Regions from separate parts of the Homo sapiens genome. Here region 1 is linked to region 2. The links are contacts of gene promoters, found by promoter capture Hi-C in human tissues and cell types (Jung and others, 2019). All regions are on one chromosome and are shown on one strand. The core of a region is centred on a gene start or on the middle of the fragment in contact, and the rest is flanking DNA. Distances in the headings are between cores, read along the strand shown. Region 1 overlaps YTHDF1 (YTH N6-methyladenosine RNA binding protein F1). Region 2 holds the start of BIRC7 (baculoviral IAP repeat containing 7).

The links. Contacts are between HindIII fragments. The study calls those that stand out against the background at their distance.
Region 1: a fragment that was not itself captured here is called in contact with the fragment with the promoter of BIRC7 in region 2 in 2 of the 25 tissues and cell types used here (H1 embryonic stem cells and ovary).

Annotation. Positions count from the first base shown.
Region 1 is chr20:63,197,954-63,202,801 of GRCh38, forward strand. YTHDF1 (YTH N6-methyladenosine RNA binding protein F1) reads right to left here. Exons shown (of 5, transcript NM_017798.4): 4 at 4,334-4,848. Among named protein-coding and RNA genes, the nearest start is that of YTHDF1, 16 kb to the right of the region's middle. RefSeq lists enhancers at 1,368-1,967, 1,968-2,569. The HindIII fragment of the contact is 5,570 bases long and covers 650-4,848 here.
Region 2 is chr20:63,234,651-63,237,853 of GRCh38, forward strand. It overlaps BIRC7 (baculoviral IAP repeat containing 7), which reads left to right and starts at 1,255. Exons shown (of 7, transcript NM_139317.3): 1 at 1,255-1,795. The coding sequence starts at 1,447. RefSeq lists enhancers at 71-672, 1,020-1,139. The HindIII fragment of the contact is 26,367 bases long and covers 1-3,203 here.

The sequences.
Region 1 (4,848 bases), core at 2,185-4,684, 35 kb before region 2:
GGCTGCTCTCAGAAGCAGATGTGGTGTTCCCTGTCCCGAGAAGGCTCCAGAGTATTTGGATTAAGGACCTGGATAGGCAGGTCCTACTCTTAAGAATTAACATTTCCTCCCTACCCTCAAATGTAAAACTGGAAAAATTAAGAACTCTGTATTTTACATTCTCTTAAACATTCTCCGTTAAAAAAAATCTCTTCCCAGGCTGGGTGTGGTGGCTCATGCCTGTAATCCTAGCACTTTGGGAGGCCAAGGTGGGTGGATTGCCTGAGCTCAGGAATTTGAGACCAGCTTGGTCAACATGGTAAAACCCCACCTCTACTAAAAATACAAAAAAAAAAAAAAAATTTGGCAGGGCATGGTGACCGGCGCCTGTAATCCCAGCCACTCTGAAGGCTGAGGCACAAGAATTACTTGAACCTAGGACGCAGAGGTTGCAGTGAGCTGAGATTGTGCCACTTCACTCCAGCCTGGGGGAGACAGCGAAACTCTCAATCAATCAATCTCTTAACAAAAGAGGTACTGCTGTTCCTAAAAAGCAAATACCAATCTCTTGAGTTCAAATAGCTGATGTTAAAGCCACTCACAGGTAAACTCCCCAGATCCCCATCTCCCTTCAGCCCTTATAAACAGCTACAAAGTTTACTATGTGCTCTTTAAAAAATACTATTCCTCATAAAATTTCTCAAAAAAAAAAAAAATGACGAAGCACAGCTCGTTCTTTTGAGGAATGCTCAACAAGCATCCAGGAAATGCTTATGGCCTAAGATTCTCTATGCTCTTTCTTAATTTCCAAAGTCAAAGAGCCACTCTGCTGAGCCGGCCTGGAGGTCGAAGTGGGGTCAGGTCAGGGGCACCTGCCGCCAGGGCAAGGACAGTCAGTCTGAGGAACTAAGCAATGCTCACAGTGTGGGACGCTCACCACTTTCACTGTTTTAAGCTAAGAAGTGGCCGTTTCTAGGTTTTTTTAAAACCAAAAAATGTATCAACCCAGGACTTGGTCTGACTCTGCTGCCATAAAAGCTACTGCCATCCTAAGAAATCAGTATGTTTCTAAATTTATAGCTGGACAGCAATCTTGCAAAATGCTAACTCTACTTCACTTTCTCAACACTCAACTTGTTTATGACCTTTACAGCAATGGGGCCAAACTCTAAATGATAAAGAAAAGGTGGGTCTGTTCTTCGAAGTCCTGAGAGAACCTTGAGAAAACCGCCCGGGGGCTCTACCAGCACAGGCGCACAACCCTCTCCTCGGCACACTACTTTGTTCTTAAAACTGCACTGACTCGGCCGGGCGCAGTGGCTCACGCCTGTAATCCCAGCACTTTGGGAGGCCAAAGCGGGCGGATCACGAGGTCAGGAGATCGAGACCATCCTGGCTAACACGGTGAAACCCCATCTCTACTAAAAGCACAAAAAATTCGCTGGGCGTGGTGGCAAGGGCCTGTAGTCCCAGCTACCCGGGAGGCTGAGGCAGGAGAATTGTGTGAACCCAGGAGGCAGAGCTTGCAGTGAGCCGAGATCACACCACTACACTCCAGACTGGGCAACAGTGCAAGATTCTGTCTTAAAAAAAAAAAAAACAAAACAAAACTGCACTGACTCTTCATGGGAAACCCAGAGGGAGAAAGCATTAGACACCCAGAGTCTCAGCCTCAAGACACCTAAGACTCCAATCCTGGATGAGCCACTAGCCCAGCCCGTTAAGCACAAGGCCTAGAGCACCTTCGCAGGCAGGGAGAGCCAGCAGCGAAGTCCAGTCTGGGGACCTCCTCAAGGACCACTTCCATTTCTCTACACTGCCCAATAAGCTTAAAAGATATTTGACGCCGGGCACAGTGGCTCATTCCTATAATCCCAGCACTTTGTGAAGCCAAGGTGGGAAGACTGTTTGAGCCCAGGAGTTCAAGACCAGCCTGGGCAACATAGCAAGACACTGATTCTACAAAAAAATACAAAAATTAGCCAGGCGTGGTGGTGCACGCCTGTAGCTACTCAGGAGGCTGAGGCAGGAAGACCGCTTGAGCCCAGGAGGTCAAGGCTACAACAAGCTGTGATTAAGTCACTGCACTCCAGCCCGGCAGACGGAGAAAGACCTGTCTCAAAAACAAAAACAAAAAGCTATTTGAGGCGGGGCACGGTGGCTCACACCTGTAATCCCAGCACTTTGGGAGGCTGAGGTGGGCAGATCACTTGAGGTCAAGAGATCGAGACCAGCCTGGCCAACATGGTGAAACCCTATCTCTACTAAAAATACAAAATTTAGCTGGGTGCAGTGGTGGGCGCCTATGATCCCAGCTACTTGGGAGGCTGAGGCAGGAAAATGGCCTGAACCTCGGAGGTTGAGGTTGCAGTGAGCCAAAATTGCACTACTGCACTCCAGCCTGGCTGACGGTGAGATTGGCTCAAAAAAAAAAAAGCTATTTGAAATTCCACCAAACATTAACAAACCAGGTTCTCATTTGTCACTTTCAATAAAATGAATTAATGTTAACACTGACCCATATGGGCCCAGAGTTCTCCAGCTTGGCTAACAGTTTAGGGGAGGGTTACCAAGTTCCTTCCAATGATGCTCCACCAGCGGCTCTGTTGGACTCGCCTTGGAGCACCCAGTGGTTTGAGGAACACTTGGATCTTGCCTGCAGGCAGATGCCCACAGACCCTGCAGGCCGCTTACCAAGATGCTTAACCCATAACCCGACACACAAAAGCAGTTATCTAGATCAAGTTTTTATAATGCAAGTTGTAGGACACTAGAGTTTTAAAAACACCAACCAGGTCAGGAGTCCGCACACTTTATGAAAACCCAAGTATTACGGTATTTAAGAAGAAAAACTGTGCGCGCACACACACACAGCCAGCTTCCAGTTTAGCCAGCTAAGGACCTAAAGCTTCATTAGCAATTATCCCTGCAACTTTAGCAATTCAGTATTCATTTTATACCTAAAAGTCTGTAATCCGAGCTATTGTCTGTAATCCCAGCTACCTGGAAGGCTAAGGCAGGACAATCACTCGAACCCAGGAGGTGGAGGTTGCAGTGAGCCGAGATTGCGCCACTGCACTCCAGCCTGGGCAACAGAGCAAAACTCCATTTAAAAAAAAAAAAAAGACCTAAAACACAGAATTTCAGTAACTAATTCAGAATTCAGTAACTGGAAATAAATGACATCCACTTCTTTTCTCACAAAAGAGAGGGACTGATACTTTTCCAAAGTTCTACAAGCCCCAAGTTGTTCAGGACTTGCATAATGTAAGACTGCAGACAGTGCAGGCGGCTCTACTCTATACATCCCTATATATGCCATGTACACGCCTTTCTGCCCAAAATACATTAGGACACTTGGTGCTCACAGGTGAATAATTCCTTTAACATAGAGAACTGAAAAAAACACTGAAAACCCATCTATTATCAACTGACATTTCAGGAAGGGATATTTTTTAAAAAGCAGGAGAGAATCTCAGGATGAACTCTCTCGAATAAAGGAAGCATTATGAAGTATGTCAGCATCATCATTTTCCCATTGCTGGTGCCAGTTTACGGGCATCTGAGCCCTTCTGAAGAGCAAACACACTCAATCCCGTCAGACATCACATGACAGCACAGACTCAGGAGTTTGGCTACAAGTATCCCAGGAAATCAGGACTGTCTCAAAAAGGCCCAGTCAATGAATTTTTGATATAGGATCCATATTTGTCATTATAAAATGTCTGGATTCCAAACCTACCCCACCACCACCATTTTCTTTACGACCTAGATGGAGTGAGTTTGTTTCCAAAAACTGCAGGATACTGGGTTTTTAAAAGAAAAATAAAGCAACGACCTCCAGATCAAAGACCAGAGATTCCCAACTACTGAGGGACAGTGCCCTGGGAAGCAAGGGCCCTTGGCCAGGTGGGGTCTCGATGCCCTACGTGCCCACCGCAGTGCTTCGTGAATATCACCTAAGTGTTCCTCATGGACGGAGGCTGGGAAGCACTGTTCCAGAAAGTATCACAATTCAAAAAGGAGAGGAGAAAGTTACCCTCAAATTCTTTGTAACAGAAAAACAGAATGTGTACACTGTGGTCCCAATTATTCAATTATAATTGGAAAGTGATCAAAGTCGTTCGGTGACATCTACCCAAATACCATCACTGGTTACTAGCAGTACTCTCCGCAGGGAAAGCCCACGAGGCTGCCAGGACCTGGGCCCGCCCACCTGCGGCCAACTGGGAGCTGCCTGTCACGAGACTCAGCTCGGCGGACCTGCCGCATCTGCTCACCACCGGGCCACCTGGTCTAAGTACGGCACCAAGGACACATCTGCATGGCAGTTGCCTGCAACACCCAGCCTCACCTTGCGCACCACCTCCTCCTCCTCCTGGCGCTTCTCGTAGTGAGCAAAGTCGTCGAAGATGGAGGTTGTGTGCTTGTAGGAACTGATAATTTTCAGCACTTGCTTGGCTTTTTCTAAGGGCACCTCCTGGGTGTCCCGGGAGTTTGTGACCGGTTTGTTGTCGTTATTCTCCAGCCTGATGTGCCGGAGCTGGTTATTGGGTACATCCTTAACAAAAATCCACTGGACATCAAACTTCCCCTTCCACTTGTCCTGAGACCAGACCCCGGCACTGGTGCCGTAGTCCACGGGGGACTTCATCTCGGCCACCCCACAAAAATGCCCACTCCCATTGACGCTGAAGAGCAGGTAGACGGGCCCCTTGCTGCTCATGCAGCGGAAGGCGCTGTCCAGGCGCTTGTTGCCGTGCTCTGTGCTACACCAGATGGAGTACTTAATGGAGCGGTGGATGTCGTCCTCAGAGTAGCTCTTGATGATGAACACACGCCCGCTTTTCAGATTCCACTCAAACTCTT
Region 2 (3,203 bases), core at 5-2,504:
TGGGCCTTGCATAGGAAAGGGTTGGGGGTCTCGCTGGGGCCTGGCAACACTGGCCTGAGTATGACCAGAACAGTCACCAGAGGCCTCCTGGGAGGGCGGGTGCAGCCCCAGCCCCCGCCGTGAGTGGGGGTCGGGGGGCAGGTGTGAAAGTGTGGTGGGCAGCAGCTGGGTCTATGCGGCTCAGCAGTGGGAAGAGAACGGGCCAGGCTTCCAGGTGAGCTCAGGGACGGTTTTCACTGCAGCTAACCCTCTCCTGCCCACCTGCGCTCCCCGTGGCAACCAGCGGCCCTGCAGCGTGCGACTCCTCTTTATTCTTCCAAACTCTGTGAGCCTGCACGCTCCCATCCAGGACGGAACAGCAGGGGAGAGTGGCTGAAGGATGACAGGGGGCTTTTAGGGCCAGCCGGGTGGATGAGCTGGGTTTGCTGGGGTTGAGGGCTCAGTCGGGGGTTGGGGGGTGTCGAAGTCTGGGCCCCATCCAGCTGTCCTTTTTGTCCCGCCCAGGTGTCCCTGGGGTTCCTGTTCTGCCCCTGGCTTCTCTGGGGTTAAGTCCTCCTCCCTGTTCCCTCACTGTGGGGTTTGGCAGTGTGGCACAGTGTGGAGCTTGGACCGGCAGCCAGGGTCACAGCAGACCTCAGGAACTCCGATTCCAGTGCCAACACTGAGTACTCCTCTTTTGGGGGCATCAGAGCCTCTCCCTTGGCTACCTGGGGAGGCTGGTATGGAGGGAGGTGGAGGGAGATGGGGGAAGGGGGAGCGGGAGGTGAGGGCAGCTCGGGCCCTTCTTTTTGCTCTGATCTTCCTGGCCTGAGGACAAGAGCTGCTCCCAGACCTGCAGAGGCCCCTTGGGGCAGAGGGATGTTTCAGAGAACAGCCGGGTGACCTGCCTCCCTGCTCTGCGTGACGCAGCCCTAGGCCCCTGTGAGGCTAGAGTCACCCCCGCAAGGTGGGAGGTCACGGCCCCTGCCTGCACAGGCAGCACAGCTCACATGTCCTTCCTTGAGCCTTCTCTGCTTCCGGAGGCTGCCCTGGGCGCCTGACCTTGGAGCCATCATCTCCAGCTCCCCAACCCCTCCCCCACAGCCCTGGGGCAGACACCAGCCTGGGGAGGGGTCTCCATGCTCAGTTCCTTCCCGTCTTGTTCAGAGAGACGTGGCCTGCCCACGTGCAGTCAGCGGCATCCGCAACCCTGCCAGGGGCCCCGTGACACGCCCCCGCTGCACAGAGCATGTGACCCCAGAGGCCACCCTGGCCACTTCCAGAAAGCTGTGGGCCCTGGGATACTCCCCTCCCAGGGTGTCTGGTGGCAGGCCTGTGCCTATCCCTGCTGTCCCCAGGGTGGGCCCCGGGGGTCAGGAGCTCCAGAAGGGCCAGCTGGGCATATTCTGAGATTGGCCATCAGCCCCCATTTCTGCTGCAAACCTGGTCAGAGCCAGTGTTCCCTCCATGGGACCTAAAGACAGTGCCAAGTGCCTGCACCGTGGACCACAGCCGAGCCACTGGGCAGCCGGTGATGGTCCCACGCAGGAGCGCTGTGGACCCCGCTCTCTGGGCAGCCCTGTCCTAGGCCTGGACACCTGCAGAGCCTGGGACCACGTGGATGGGCAGATCCTGGGCCAGCTGCGGCCCCTGACAGAGGAGGAAGAGGAGGAGGGCGCCGGGGCCACCTTGTCCAGGGGGCCTGCCTTCCCCGGCATGGGCTCTGAGGAGTTGCGTCTGGCCTCCTTCTATGACTGGCCGCTGACTGCTGAGGTGCCACCCGAGCTGCTGGCTGCTGCCGGCTTCTTCCACACAGGTCAGTCCCGGGCGGGGGGGCCTTCCTGCCGTGGGCCTGGGCACGATTCTGGACCCTTCCAGCCCAGGGCTCTGCCTCCTCCGTAGCATCCATCCCCCAACAGGAAGGGTCTGGCCTGATGACGGAGCAGTGGTCCTGCAAGCCCCTCCAGTGCCCATGGGCTCGTGCCTGACACCCTCCCCCGGAGTCTCTGCTGGCTGAGTGTTTCAGACCGTGGGATGTGAGGAGGGGCTGCCTCTGGCCACAGTCTGAGGGTCTCAGCTGTGGAGGCCGCCAGCTTGGTGCACAAGTACCCCTTTGTGATAGAAGTGGGTGGGGCTGACATTGCCTGGGGCCCTCACCTTCCCCGCTGCTGTTCTGCACAGGGAGAGGAGATGTTTAAAGAACAGGATCAGGGTGACCAAGGCAGGCAGTGGTCAGCCAGAAGGTCCTGGATGCTCAGCCTGTGGGGAATTTCTCCAGGCCCCAACCTGCAGCTACTGTCTGGTCTTCCCCAACTGAATCAAGTCCCCGGAGTACCTATCCTAGTCTTGGCCCGGGCCTGCTCCTCTGCCCTACAGCTGCAGACCATGTGGTCAGACCTGAGTTCAGGTCCCAGCTCTGCCACTTCCTGGCTGAAGGACAGGGCAGCAGGGCCCACCGAGGGCTTTACAAATACTGGCACAGCCATGGTCATTGTCAGCAGTGGGCTCTGGCGGGGCACCATCCTGGTAAGGCTGGACCAACTTAAGACAGCTGGTCGGGGGGACAGTGGCTGGGACAGTCAGAAGCCGTGGCGTGAAGGGGCAGGCCCAGCTCACCCACCTCCCTGGAAGTCCAAGGCTCAGGAGGCAAAGGCCAGGCAAGAGGCATGGCAGGTGCAGAGCCGGGGTCTTTGGGGCTGGTAGAGGTCCAGTGCCCGATGCAGCCCAAACCTGTGATGTCAGTGGCAGGTGACGTATCGCATGGATGCCGATGAGGGGACGGGGTCGCCAGGAGGTAGAGAGATGACGGGTCCCCCACCCCCAAAGGGAGGCATGAGTTCCTAAAAGCAAGCCTGGCCCCAGACTGGCCTTCTAGGGCAGCCTCCCTTCTTCTTCTCACTGGGAATCCATCTTGGGGAAGCAGAGACCTGGGGAGGGGCCCTTCTGGCTCCTGAAGCCCCAGGGCTATAGATGTACCAAGCCCTGGGGGGCCCCCACTGCTCACTCTGGGAACAATGCAAATGCCAGCTCAGTCCTTTCCTGAACATTCTCGCCCATCCTGGCCGGCACCCCAGTCACCCTTGTCCCCTTTTCACCTTTGATGCTAATGAGGTACAAGTGACATCCCCCACCAAGCCCCCTGCCCACCCCCTCCTCCTTCTTGCCACCTGGGAGCTCCCCTCCAGCTGAAGCTCTCATAGCCTTGGAAGGACACACCGGGGGCC